Linked DNA regions of Homo sapiens: region 1 is linked to region 2. The links are contacts of gene promoters, found by promoter capture Hi-C in blood cells and fetal thymus (Javierre and others, 2016). All regions are on one chromosome and are shown on one strand. The core of a region is centred on a gene start or on the middle of the fragment in contact, and the rest is flanking DNA. Distances in the headings are between cores, read along the strand shown. Region 1 has its middle 32 kb from the start of PDGFA. Region 2 holds the start of PRKAR1B (protein kinase cAMP-dependent type I regulatory subunit beta).

Region 1 (5,158 bases), core at 173-2,672, 240 kb before region 2:
TGACACTATCTGCCCACATCCCTTGCTGAGCAGCAAAATCAACACAGGACAGGCTGTGACTCGCCAGGCCACGAGGAGCTGCAGGACGTACACACTGCATCGCCATCTGTGGGGCTTGGACAGCCACAGGAGGGACATGGCCCCAGAAGCCTGGCAGGGCATCCCACTGCGAGGGCCCCTCAGTGCCAGCTCTCGTGGCCTCTCACCAAGTCTGGCCCCAGCCCAGCTTTCCATCGCCACAAGCTTGTGCAGTCCACACCCGCCACCAAGAAGGGCGCTGGGGGTTGGGGCCAATGCCAGGTGGGGCAGGGAGGGGACGCTGTGGGAGGGAGGGGTGGCTGAACAGGATAAGGGCCCTGGAATGCACGGCTCCACCCCTGGATGGCTGTGTCCTCGTCCACAGAACAGGGACAGGGCCGCAGAAGGGCACTGTCAGGAGGCGGGATCCCTGTACCCTGATGACTCCCGGGAAGCGGCAGAAATCACGGTCATGAAGGATTCGTAACCGGGGCAGGGCTCTTCTCAGAGCGGGAGAAACAGACAGCGTCCAAGGAGCACCCCACACTGTCCCAGCTGATAAATGAACACAGCTGCAGACCATAGCAGGGTCCTCAGTGAGTCCGAGCTCTCCTGACTCCGCGTCGGACTGAAGCATCCTCGAGGGTGTCTATATGAGCCTGTGTGTGAGCTTGTGTGTGAATGTGTGCGTGCCTGTGTGTGAATGTGTGTGCCCGTGTGAGCCTATGTGAGCCTGCATGTGAATGTGTATGCCTGTGTGTGAATGCATGTGCTTGTGTGTGAGGCGCGCTTGTGTGTGAGGCATGTGAATATGTGAGCCTGCATGTGCCTGCATGAGCCTGCGTGTGCCTGCGTGAGCCTGCGTGTGACTGTGTATGCCTGTGTGAGCATGTGTGTGCGTGTGACTCCATGAGCCTGTGTGTGAATGTGTGAGCCTGCATGTGAATGCGTGTGCCTACGTGAGAATGCGTGAGCCTGTGTGTGAATGTGTGTCCCTGTGTGTGGACCTGCACGTGAGTGAGTGTGCCTGCATGTGAATGCGTGTGAATGCATGAGCCTGTGTGTGAATGTGTGAACCTGTATGTGAATGTGTGTGCCTGTACGTGAATGTGTGTGGTGCTCCATGTGTTTTTGTGTCTATGTGTTTGTCTCTGTGTGGCTGTAACTTTCTGTGACTCTCCAAAAACCCTGATTCAAAACCAAAGACACCACAGGAAAAGAGGACTACAGAACAATTTCCCACTTAAGCATGGACACAAAAATCCTTAACAAATGATTAACAAGTAGAATCAATATAAAAAGAAACGTATTTAATGACCAAGGTGGGTTAATCTCAGGAATGCAAGGTTAATGTAGCATTTGAAAAACTAATCAATGTAATTCACAATAATAGAATTATGTAAAAAAAAATCACATGGTAATTTTAACAGATGCAGAAACCATACAATGAAATGCAATAGATGCAAAAAAAATGGACACAATTCAACAACTTTTCATGATTTAAGAAAAACAAAAAACCCTCTCAGAAAACTAATAGGAGAAGCAAACCTCCTCAACTTCATTAAAGGCATCTACAAAACAGCTACAGCTAACATCTTACTCAATGTTGAAAGGCTCATTGCTTTCTAGCTAATAACAGGAATAAAGCAAGATTGCCCATTCTATTGTCACTTCTATTTGTTCTGGAGGTCCCAGCCAGTACAACAAGGCAAGAAAAAGAAATAAAAGGCATACAGAATGCAAAAGAAGAAATACAACAGTTCTTATTTCCAGATAACATGATCATGTATGTAGAAAACTCAAAGGAATTTCAAAAGAATTCTACTAAAACTAATAAGTGAATTTAGCAAGGTTGCAGGATCTAAGGACGATATACAAAAACAAATTGAAATTGAACAACTAGACCAAAGATCAACCAGCAAGTAGAAGACCTGGACAACATCATACACCAACTCGATCTTATGTGCATCTACAGAACACTCCATTCAACCATAAAGGTATACACATTCTTTTTCTTTTGGAGATGGAGTCTCGCTCTGTCACCCAGGCTGGAGTGCAGTGGTGCAATCTCAGCTCACTGCAGCCTCCACCTCCCGGGTTCAAGCGATTCTCGTGCCTCAGCCTCCTGAGTAGCTGAGATTACAGGCATGCCCAACCATGCCCGGCTAATTTTTGTATTTTTAGTAGAGACAGGGTTTCACCATGTTGGCCAGGCTGGTTTCAAACTCCTGACTCAAGTGATCCGCCTGCCTTGGCCTCCCAAAGTGCTGGGATTACAGGTGTGAGCCACTGCGCCCATCCAGAAACACACATTCTTTTCAAGTGCACGTGAAACATTCTCCAGGATAGACCATATGTTTGGCCATAAAAGAAGTCTCAATAAATTCAAAATAATGAAAATCATACCAAGTATGTTCTCTGACCATAATGAAATAAAATTAGAAATCATTAATAGATGAAAATTTATGAAATTCACAAATATGTGGAAATTAAACAACACACTCCTACATAACCAATAAGTCAAAGAAGACATCCCAGCGAAAACCAGAAAATACTTTGAGATGAAAGAAAACTCAACTTACCAAAGCTTATGGGATGCAGCTTAAAACAGTGCTTAGAGGGACATTTATAGCTAGAAACTCCTAATTTTTTAAAATAAAAAAGAAAAGACGTCAAATCAATAACTTAATCTTCCATCTTTTAAAAAATGGAAAAAAAAACCAAACCAAACCCAAAACAAGCAGAAAAATGAAATAACAAAGATTAGAGAGCTACTTGAAAGGCTGAGGCAGGAGGATCACGTGAGCCCAGTTCAAGACCAGCCTGGGCAACATAGCAAGACTCTGTCTCAAAAAAAAAAAAATTACGGGGGAAATAAATTTTAAAAATAAAGAGTAGAAAAACAATAGAGAATATTAACAAAACCAAAAGTTGGTTCTTGAAAAAAATAAAATAGACAAAACTTTAGCTACACTGACCAAGAAGTAGACAGAATAATCAAATTACTAAACTCAGGAATGAAAAGAGGGAACATTAGTATCAGCCTTACAGAAATAAAAATAATAAAGGAATGCTGTGAACATTGTGTGCCAAGAAATTAGATAACCTAGATGAAATGAACAAATTCCTAGAATCACAAACTGACTCAAGAAAAAGAGGCCCGAAGAAATATGAAGACTTATAGTAAGCAAAGAGATTGAATTAGTAATCAAAAAACTTCCTACAAAGAAAAGCCCAGGACCAGATGGCTTCACTGGTGAATGCTACCAAATATTTAAAAAGGAATTAACACAAATGCTTCCCAAACTCTTTGAAAAAATAGAAGAGGAAAGAACTCATTCTGTGAAGCCAGTCATAACCTGTCACCAAAACCACACAAAGACATCACAAGAAAACTACAGACTACTATCCCTCATGTATAGACACACAAAATTTCAATAAATAAAAATATTAAATAAATAAAATATTAAAAAGCCAAATCCAGCAACATACAAAAATAATGACTGTGCTCCATGACCAAGTGGGATTTATTCCAGGAATGCAAAGGTGGTTCAACATACAAAAAAAAAATCAGTGTAATATACCATATTAACAGAATAAAAATAAAAATCACATGATCATCTCAACTGATGCAAAAAAAGGACAATCTAATATTTTTTCATAACAAAAATAAATAAACACTCAACAACTAGGAATAGAAGGGAACTTTCTCACCCTAATAAAGGACATCTACATAAAACCCACAGCTAGCTAAGGCAAAAGACTTAGAACTCTTCCCCTAAGATCAGGAGCAAGACAAAGATGTCGGCTTCAGCCACTTCTAGTCAACATTCTACTGGAGGTACTTTCTAGCCAGGGCAATTATAAATGAAAAGAAAACAGTTTTTACAAAGAACAAAGCTGGAGGACTCACAATTTTGGATTTCAAACTTACCACAATGTCAGTAATGAAGACCCAAGGCATAGGGAGAGACATATAGATCAATGAAATAGAACTGAGAGTTCATTTAAAAAGCTATACATTCATGGTTGATTGACTTGTCAAGGGTGTCAAGACTATTCAGTGGGGAAGAAGAGTCTCTTCCACAAATCGTGCTGAGACAATTGGATTTCCACCATACAAAAGAATGCAGGTGGACCCCTGCCTCACACCACATACAAAAATTAACTGAAAGCAGATCAAACACCTAAATATGAGAACTAAACTATAAAACTCTTAGAAAAATATCATAGTCACAAACCTTCATGAATGCATCTTGTGTACAAAATTCTGAGCAACTCTGGTCTAATCTGGTTTAATCCAACAGTTCAACCACCTTACAGTTGAGGAAACTGTGGCTCAGAGAGGGGTGAGGCTCTGCTGAAGGTCACTGACCCCCCATGAGCAGAAATGACCTTCAGAACACCCCTCCCTTTCCTGCACCAGGCCAATTCACTGAGCCATTTTGGTATGCAACTCTCTGCTGAGCCAAGAATGAACAAACAAATTAACTTCTCGGCAGGGTGCAGTGGCACTTGCCTATAATCCCAGCACTTTAGGAGGCTGAGGTGGGAGGATCCTTTGAGCCCAGGAATTTGAGACCAACCCGGGCAACAAAGAGAAGCCCCGAGGCCACACCAGTCCCACCTACTCAGAAGGCTGAGGCTGGAAGGATCAGTTGAGCCCAGGAGGTCGAGGCTACAGTGAGCCATGATCGCGCCACTGCACTCCAGCCTGGGCGACAGAGAGAGATACTGTCTCAAATGAATAAATACGTATAAAAATAAACAAGTGACTTTCTTGAGACCCAGTAGCCATAAGTCCTCCCTGACATCCACAGTGCAGGGTCTAGGCTTTTCCATCCATCAGGGCTGGAGGTCTGGCTGTGTAGACAAGTCCTAGCTCTTGGTTCCTGGGGGAGGGGATTTGGGAGTCGACCGTGCCAGTGGACGCTGAGTAGCACAAGGCTGTGCCAGGAGGTCCAGAGGAGCCCAGGACAGGGCAGAGCCTGGACTAGAGACAGGCAGGTGGTCCTGAGGTCAGGTGGGGTTCACCACTGAGTTATGAGTCTCTGCCTGACAAGCTTGAGAAGCCTCCCACGCCAGGTGGCAGCTGCCTCTCTGGACCACAAGCCCCGGCACGCCAGAGCGGCTGCATTCC
Region 2 (5,529 bases), core at 5-2,504:
AACCTGGTTTGAGCAATAAAGCTCCAGTGTCCTTTAGCCAGTTTCTGCATGCAGCCAGTTTCTGCATGCAGCCAGTTTCTGCATGCATTAAACTCTCTATTGCAATTCCCCTGTCTTGATAAATTGGCTCTACCTGGGCAGCGAGTAAGGCGAACCTATTGGGCGGCTACGCCTGAGATCTAATGACAGGCTGCACGTGAAGCCCAGACCAGGCACCTGTCTTACACCACAGGGGGATCCAGTCCACAGAACCAGCGTCCTTCCCTCCTGGAACGGACCTTCCCAAAGCCAGAGGGGCTCTAGGCGGCTCAAACAGGGGCTTCCCGGCTACCCTGGTCCCAGGCGGGACCACTCAGGTTCCTTCTCCAAGCCCCCTAGGCTGCAGGGCAGGCTTCCCTAGGGGCAGGCCCAGGCCTATAGCCCGGGACCCGCATCCCGGGCGAGCTGCACCCTCCCGAGACCTTCCCCATCTGTACAATGGGGACAGGACAAGGCCCAGCAGGCAGGCTGGCGGGGGTTCCGGCGACAGAGGGGGACAGCGGGCGAGCACGACAAGAGCACAGGCCCACGTGCGCACCGGCGGGGAGGAAGTAGCCCGGCGCCCCGCCCGCAGCGCGGACCGGAAGTGCTGCCGTAATCTGCGCTGAGAGTCGCGAAAGCGCTGTTCCCCTTAGTGACCGGCGACGCGGGCAAGATGGCGGCGCTGGGGGTGGCGGAGGCCGTGGCGGCCCCACACCCGGCTGAGGGGGCCGAGACGGCTGAGGCGGTGGAGCTGAGCCGCGCCCTGAGCCGCCTGCTGCCGGGGCTGGAGGCCGACAGCAAGCCGGGCCGGCGGCGCGCCTTGGAGGCCCTGCGGCGCGCGCTGGAGGAGCCAGGCCCTGCCGCCGACCCCACCGCTTTCCAGGGCCCCTGGGCGCGCCTACTGCTGCCGCGCTTGCTGCGCTGCCTGAGCGACCCCGCCGAGGGCTGCCGCGCGCTGGCAGTGCACCTGCTGGATCTGGGCCTGCGCCGCGCCGCGCGGCCCCGCGATGCCCTGCCGCGCCTGCTGCCCGCGCTCGCCGCGCGCTTGGCCGGCCCCGTGCCCGCGCGCCGCCCGCCCGAGGCCTGTGAGGAGCTGCGCCTGGCGCTTGTGCAGCTGCTGGGCCTGGCCGTGGACCTGTGCGGCGCCGCGCTCGCGCCCCACCTGGACGACGCTCTGCGCGCGCTGCGCTGCTCCCTGCTCGACCCCTTCGCCGCCGTGCGCCGCGAGAGCTGCAGCTGCGCCGCCGCCCTGGCGCAGGCCACGCCCGGTGAGCACCCCGGGCCCCGCTCCCACACGCCACCCCACACTCTCACCCCCACCTCCACCTCCGCGGCCCCTCTCACAACCCCCGCGGCTCGGCCCCGCCCCCCTCCACGCCCGCACCCCCCAACATCCCGGACCCCCCATGCGCCGCTTCCCCCACCCGCCTGCCCCAAAGCACCCCGCCCGGCCCCCTCCTCCCACCACCACTGCTTCCCCTGCCTCACGTCCCGCCACCAACGCGCCCTTCAGCTGCTCCCTTGTCCTCTACCCCCATGTACCTGTTTCCTGCGCTGCCACGTGCTCCTTGCCCCGTGACCCCTGTTCCTGCTTGGCCCTCACTCACCTCACTCCCCTGTCCCCTTGCTCCCCGCCTCCACCCTCCACGCCCCAAGCCCCGCCCCCCACCTGCCTGCTCCCTGTGCCCCCTCCACCTGCCTATCCTGTGCCATCCTCCTCCTTGCACGCCGCCCTCCCGCGACCCTCACCTCCCACCCTCCTCCCTGCCTGAGCCCCCTCCACCCCACCCGGGCCCACGAGCCAGCGCTTCTGTCCAGATACCTGGAAACCACCGCAGAAATTCCTGTTAGGCGGTTTGGGGTGGGGTGTGCCCTGATAGCTGCCCCCTTTCCTTCCCTCGGGGGCTTGCAGGACTTGCACCTGGTTGAGGGCACGCGCTTTGAGACTCTGCTCTGGTCATTTCACTTTCTGTCCCATTCATCCTACTCCCCTGCCTTTCCGCTCTGGCTTGGACCACTGTCCTAAGTGGAAGGAGGCCGCTTCTCCCCTCCACTTTATAACGTTCCCCATCTTTTTTAGAGCTCTGATCTGATCCGGTCGTTCCCTTTCCTTAGCTGGCCATTCCTGCAGGGTCTTGCCCTTTCCCTCCCCTGGCTGGGATGTGGAATGATAGCAGGCGCCTGCTTCCTGCTGGCGGGAAGGCTTTCCGAAGGAGGGAACACTGATGCTATAAATCCGTGGGCGGTAGGGAGCAGGAAAGCAGTGAGGGATCTGGCCAGCTCAGGCCGTCCCAGTGATGTCCCAGTGATGGTCTGAATGTAGTGGGAAGTGCAGGGGGTGTCAATAGAAGTGATAGACCCGAGTTCAGGTTGTTAAAAGATCACTGCAGCTGCGTGGAGAATAGATTCCAGAAGTAGAGGAAGAGCTGGACTTGGGGAAATGCCGAGATTTCCACGTTGGTTAACTTTGGATTTCACATGGTCCAGAACTCCTGTGGAGCTTGGGGAAGAACCTTGGGCTGGATGGACATGGCCATTGAGAATTCCTGGCATTTAATGTATTTCTTCTTCATCCTCAACCACTTCCCTACCCAGTCTGTACATCAGCCCCACGAGCTCCCTCCCTGGACCGTAGGTTCCACAGGACAGCACTGTGCCCATCTGTGCCCCAGCCCCAAGCGCAGCCTGCTGGGGTATGTGCTCACTGGTTGCTGTGGGGTGAGGGACTGTGCCTCTGCCTGGAGCATCCCCTCATCTCCAGCACCTCTGGCCTTCCTCTCCCCTGGGTGGGGGGCCTCACCTCTGGTCTCGGTCACACTGGGCAACGGCAGAGAGGTTGAGGCGCTCACCCAAAGTCTCACTGGAATAGCCGTTTCCCAGACGGGCCCCAAGTAGTGCAGAGCTGAGGCAAGAGGCGGCCTGGATGCCAGAGACCCTTTGGTTCTGACTTTTTTTTTTTTTTTTTTTGAGACAGGGTTTCACTCTGTCTCCCAGGCTGGAGTGCAGTGGGGCGATCTCAGCTCACTGCAACCTCCGCCTCCTGAGTTCAAGCGATTCTCCTGCCTCAGCCTCCCAAGTAGCTGGGATTACAGGCGCCTGCCACCTCTTGTTCTGACTTTCTGCGGGGACTTTACAAATAGGAAGTGCAGTGGCTTTGCCTGGAGTGGTGCTGGCCCAGCTTCCTGGAGGAGCCTGGGGTCTCGTCTCAGGTGGGGCTGGGAGTGTGGCCTCGCCTCTGTCTTCTGGGCTCGGCTTCTTTCCTCTGGCCAGTGTCCCCGTCAGGCCTCCACCTTGGCTTCAGCAGGTCCAGGCTCTCTGGTCTTCAGCCACAATGGGTTTGCACCCCCAGCCTTTCCCCGCTGGTCCTCCTAAGCCTCTGGGTTGCACAGGTGTCATCAGGGTGGGACGCTTGTCCCTGAGCCTCTTCCTGTGCCGGGCGGTACAGAGCTCTCCTTGGCAGCCTGGATTGTGTACTGTTCATGCAGCAAGGACCTGGCGTAGGAGAGGAAGGGAGGTGAGGAACTCATAGGCAGGCAGCCGTCCTCTGGAAGCCCACAGAGCTGGGCGAGGCGTGTGGGAGCAGCTCTGGTAACTGGGGGCCTCCCTGTCCCTCAGACCACTTCCACATGCAGTCGGAGTCTCTGATCGGGCCCCTGATGCAGACCATCTCCCACCAGCACTGGAAGGTCCGTGTGGCCGCCATTGAAGCCACAGGCGCAGTGATCCATTTTGGCAACGGGAAGTCCGTGGACGACGTGCTTTCCCATTTTGCTCAGCGACTGTTTGATGACGTCCCGCAGGTAACTGGTGTTTCTCCTGGACAGTCTGTTCCTCTCTCCAACACAGGCGGGCTGACGTGCTGTTTTTAACTAACTCACTTGTTCTTTTTTCAGAGTGCTGTATGCACCAAATGTCCTTTCATTATTCCTAGTCACAGGACGTTCCTGTTCACATCTTGGAAAAACTAGAAGAGAGCTGAACTGTTTTAATGTTTGATGTTATGAATTCCAAGGATGTTAGAAAGGATGACTTGTGTAGTTATTGTCTCTTAGGCACAGTGTGCACTTCAGCAGTTGCAGAAGGTTCCTTAGTGCTCCCATCCATCAAGACGCACTTTCCCGAAAAGCCACCATGGTTGGTGGACCTGGACTGGGAGAAGAGTGGAGTCGGGGTTGGTTTGTTGGGGATAATTATGTCGTTGGGCTTTGGAACCCACCAAGAGACGGGCAGGCAGGCAGGCAGGAGTCCTACAGATGGGGCTGAGTGTTGGCTTTACTGCTGGCAGAATCTGGCCTGGAGGGCATGTCTTGGATCTGAGGCCCCAGTGACTTGCTAAAATGCTACACACTGTGGCCACCGGGGAAGCTGAGTGACCTCTGATCTTTCTGTCTCTGAGTTACCTGTCATCGTAGTCAGACATGTGATCTTTTGTGTCTGGCCTCTTCACTGTGCATGGTTCCAGGTTTCAGCCTTGAAGAGGTAGGTTTCCTGATGAGAAATGGCTTGAAGGTGGTGAGTTGAAGAGTCACTCGGGGTATTCTGGGGCCAGGATGGAAGCCCTGACTCGCTCCCTCGTCTGTGCTGCTGGGGTCCACCCGTAGGGCCGGCTCCAGGTGTGACATAGCACCTGCTCAGGACACCCCTGCTTTGCCTCCATGGCCAGGCTTCATTCTCCGGCTCTCTCCCTCCAGCAGCAGAGTGGCTGCCTAGGGGCTGTGCGCAGAGACACAGGGGGACCCTTTCCCACCAGGAGCCTTTGTTCACCCCCCTTGGTCTCATCAGGCCAGCGGAAGTTGAGTCACCATGTACGCTGGCCGGCCCCTCCTGGAGCTGGCGTGGGTTCGGCACCAGGCAGCACAGAGGGCCCCTGAGGACATCAGGCTCTGCCCAGTGGGGAGAAAGTGGGCAGAGTGCGGGGTCAGTGTCCATGCTGCCCGGCACTTGCAGCAGGCACTTCTGGCACTGGCTAAATATTTGGGCTGCGGAGGGCAGTTCAAGGGGCCAGGGCAAGAACAGAGCCCAGCAAGAAGTGCAGGCGGCCGGCTGGTTTTTCTCTCCCACCTTCCTTAAGCCTGAGGCAGAGCATGGCCCACAAGGAAAGTGGAGTCTGTGTCATGGGCCAAGTCTTACTCCTCAAAACAGTGTGATGACTCTGTATGGAGAGCTCTGTGTGAATACTGAAGCTCCATAGCTGATAGCTGTCGGTGTAAGCCTACTGTCACTGTCTAAAAATAACCATCACTGTCTAAAAATACCGTCACTGTCTAAAAATACCATCACTGTATCGATAGCTGTCTGTAAATACTGGAACTCTGTGGAGCACGCTCTGTAAATACTGGAACTCTATTGCTAGCTGTAAACGGTGTAACTCAGTATAACTATACCGTAACTCTAAAAATACCATAACTATGTGTCGACAGCTGCCTATAAATGCTATAACTGTATTGGTAGCTATGTATAAGCAGCCTACTCTGTATCAATAGCTGTCTGTTAGAAAGCTGACATCAC

What was found. Contacts are between HindIII fragments. The CHiCAGO score rates a contact against its expected background, and 5 or more counts as called.
Region 1: a fragment that was not itself captured here is called in contact with the fragment with the promoter of PRKAR1B in region 2 in 2 of 17 cell types (naive CD8 T cells and activated CD4 T cells); the score reaches 6.4 in naive CD8 T cells.

What each region holds. Positions count from the first base shown.
Region 1 is chr7:485,574-490,731 of GRCh38, forward strand. No RefSeq gene overlaps it. Among named protein-coding and RNA genes, the nearest start is that of PDGFA, 32 kb to the right of the region's middle. RefSeq lists an enhancer at 5,067-5,158. The HindIII fragment of the contact is 2,362 bases long and covers 242-2,603 here.
Region 2 is chr7:726,027-731,555 of GRCh38, forward strand. It overlaps PRKAR1B (protein kinase cAMP-dependent type I regulatory subunit beta), which reads right to left and starts at 1,255. Exons shown (of 11, transcript NM_001164760.2): 1 at 1,184-1,255. It overlaps DNAAF5 (dynein axonemal assembly factor 5), which reads left to right and starts at 673. Exons shown (of 13, transcript NM_017802.4): 1 at 673-1,289; 2 at 3,637-3,821. The coding sequence starts at 695. RefSeq lists silencers at 746-945, 1,196-1,245, 1,306-1,415, 1,456-1,535 and an enhancer at 4,840-5,339. The HindIII fragment of the contact is 13,329 bases long and covers 1-5,529 here.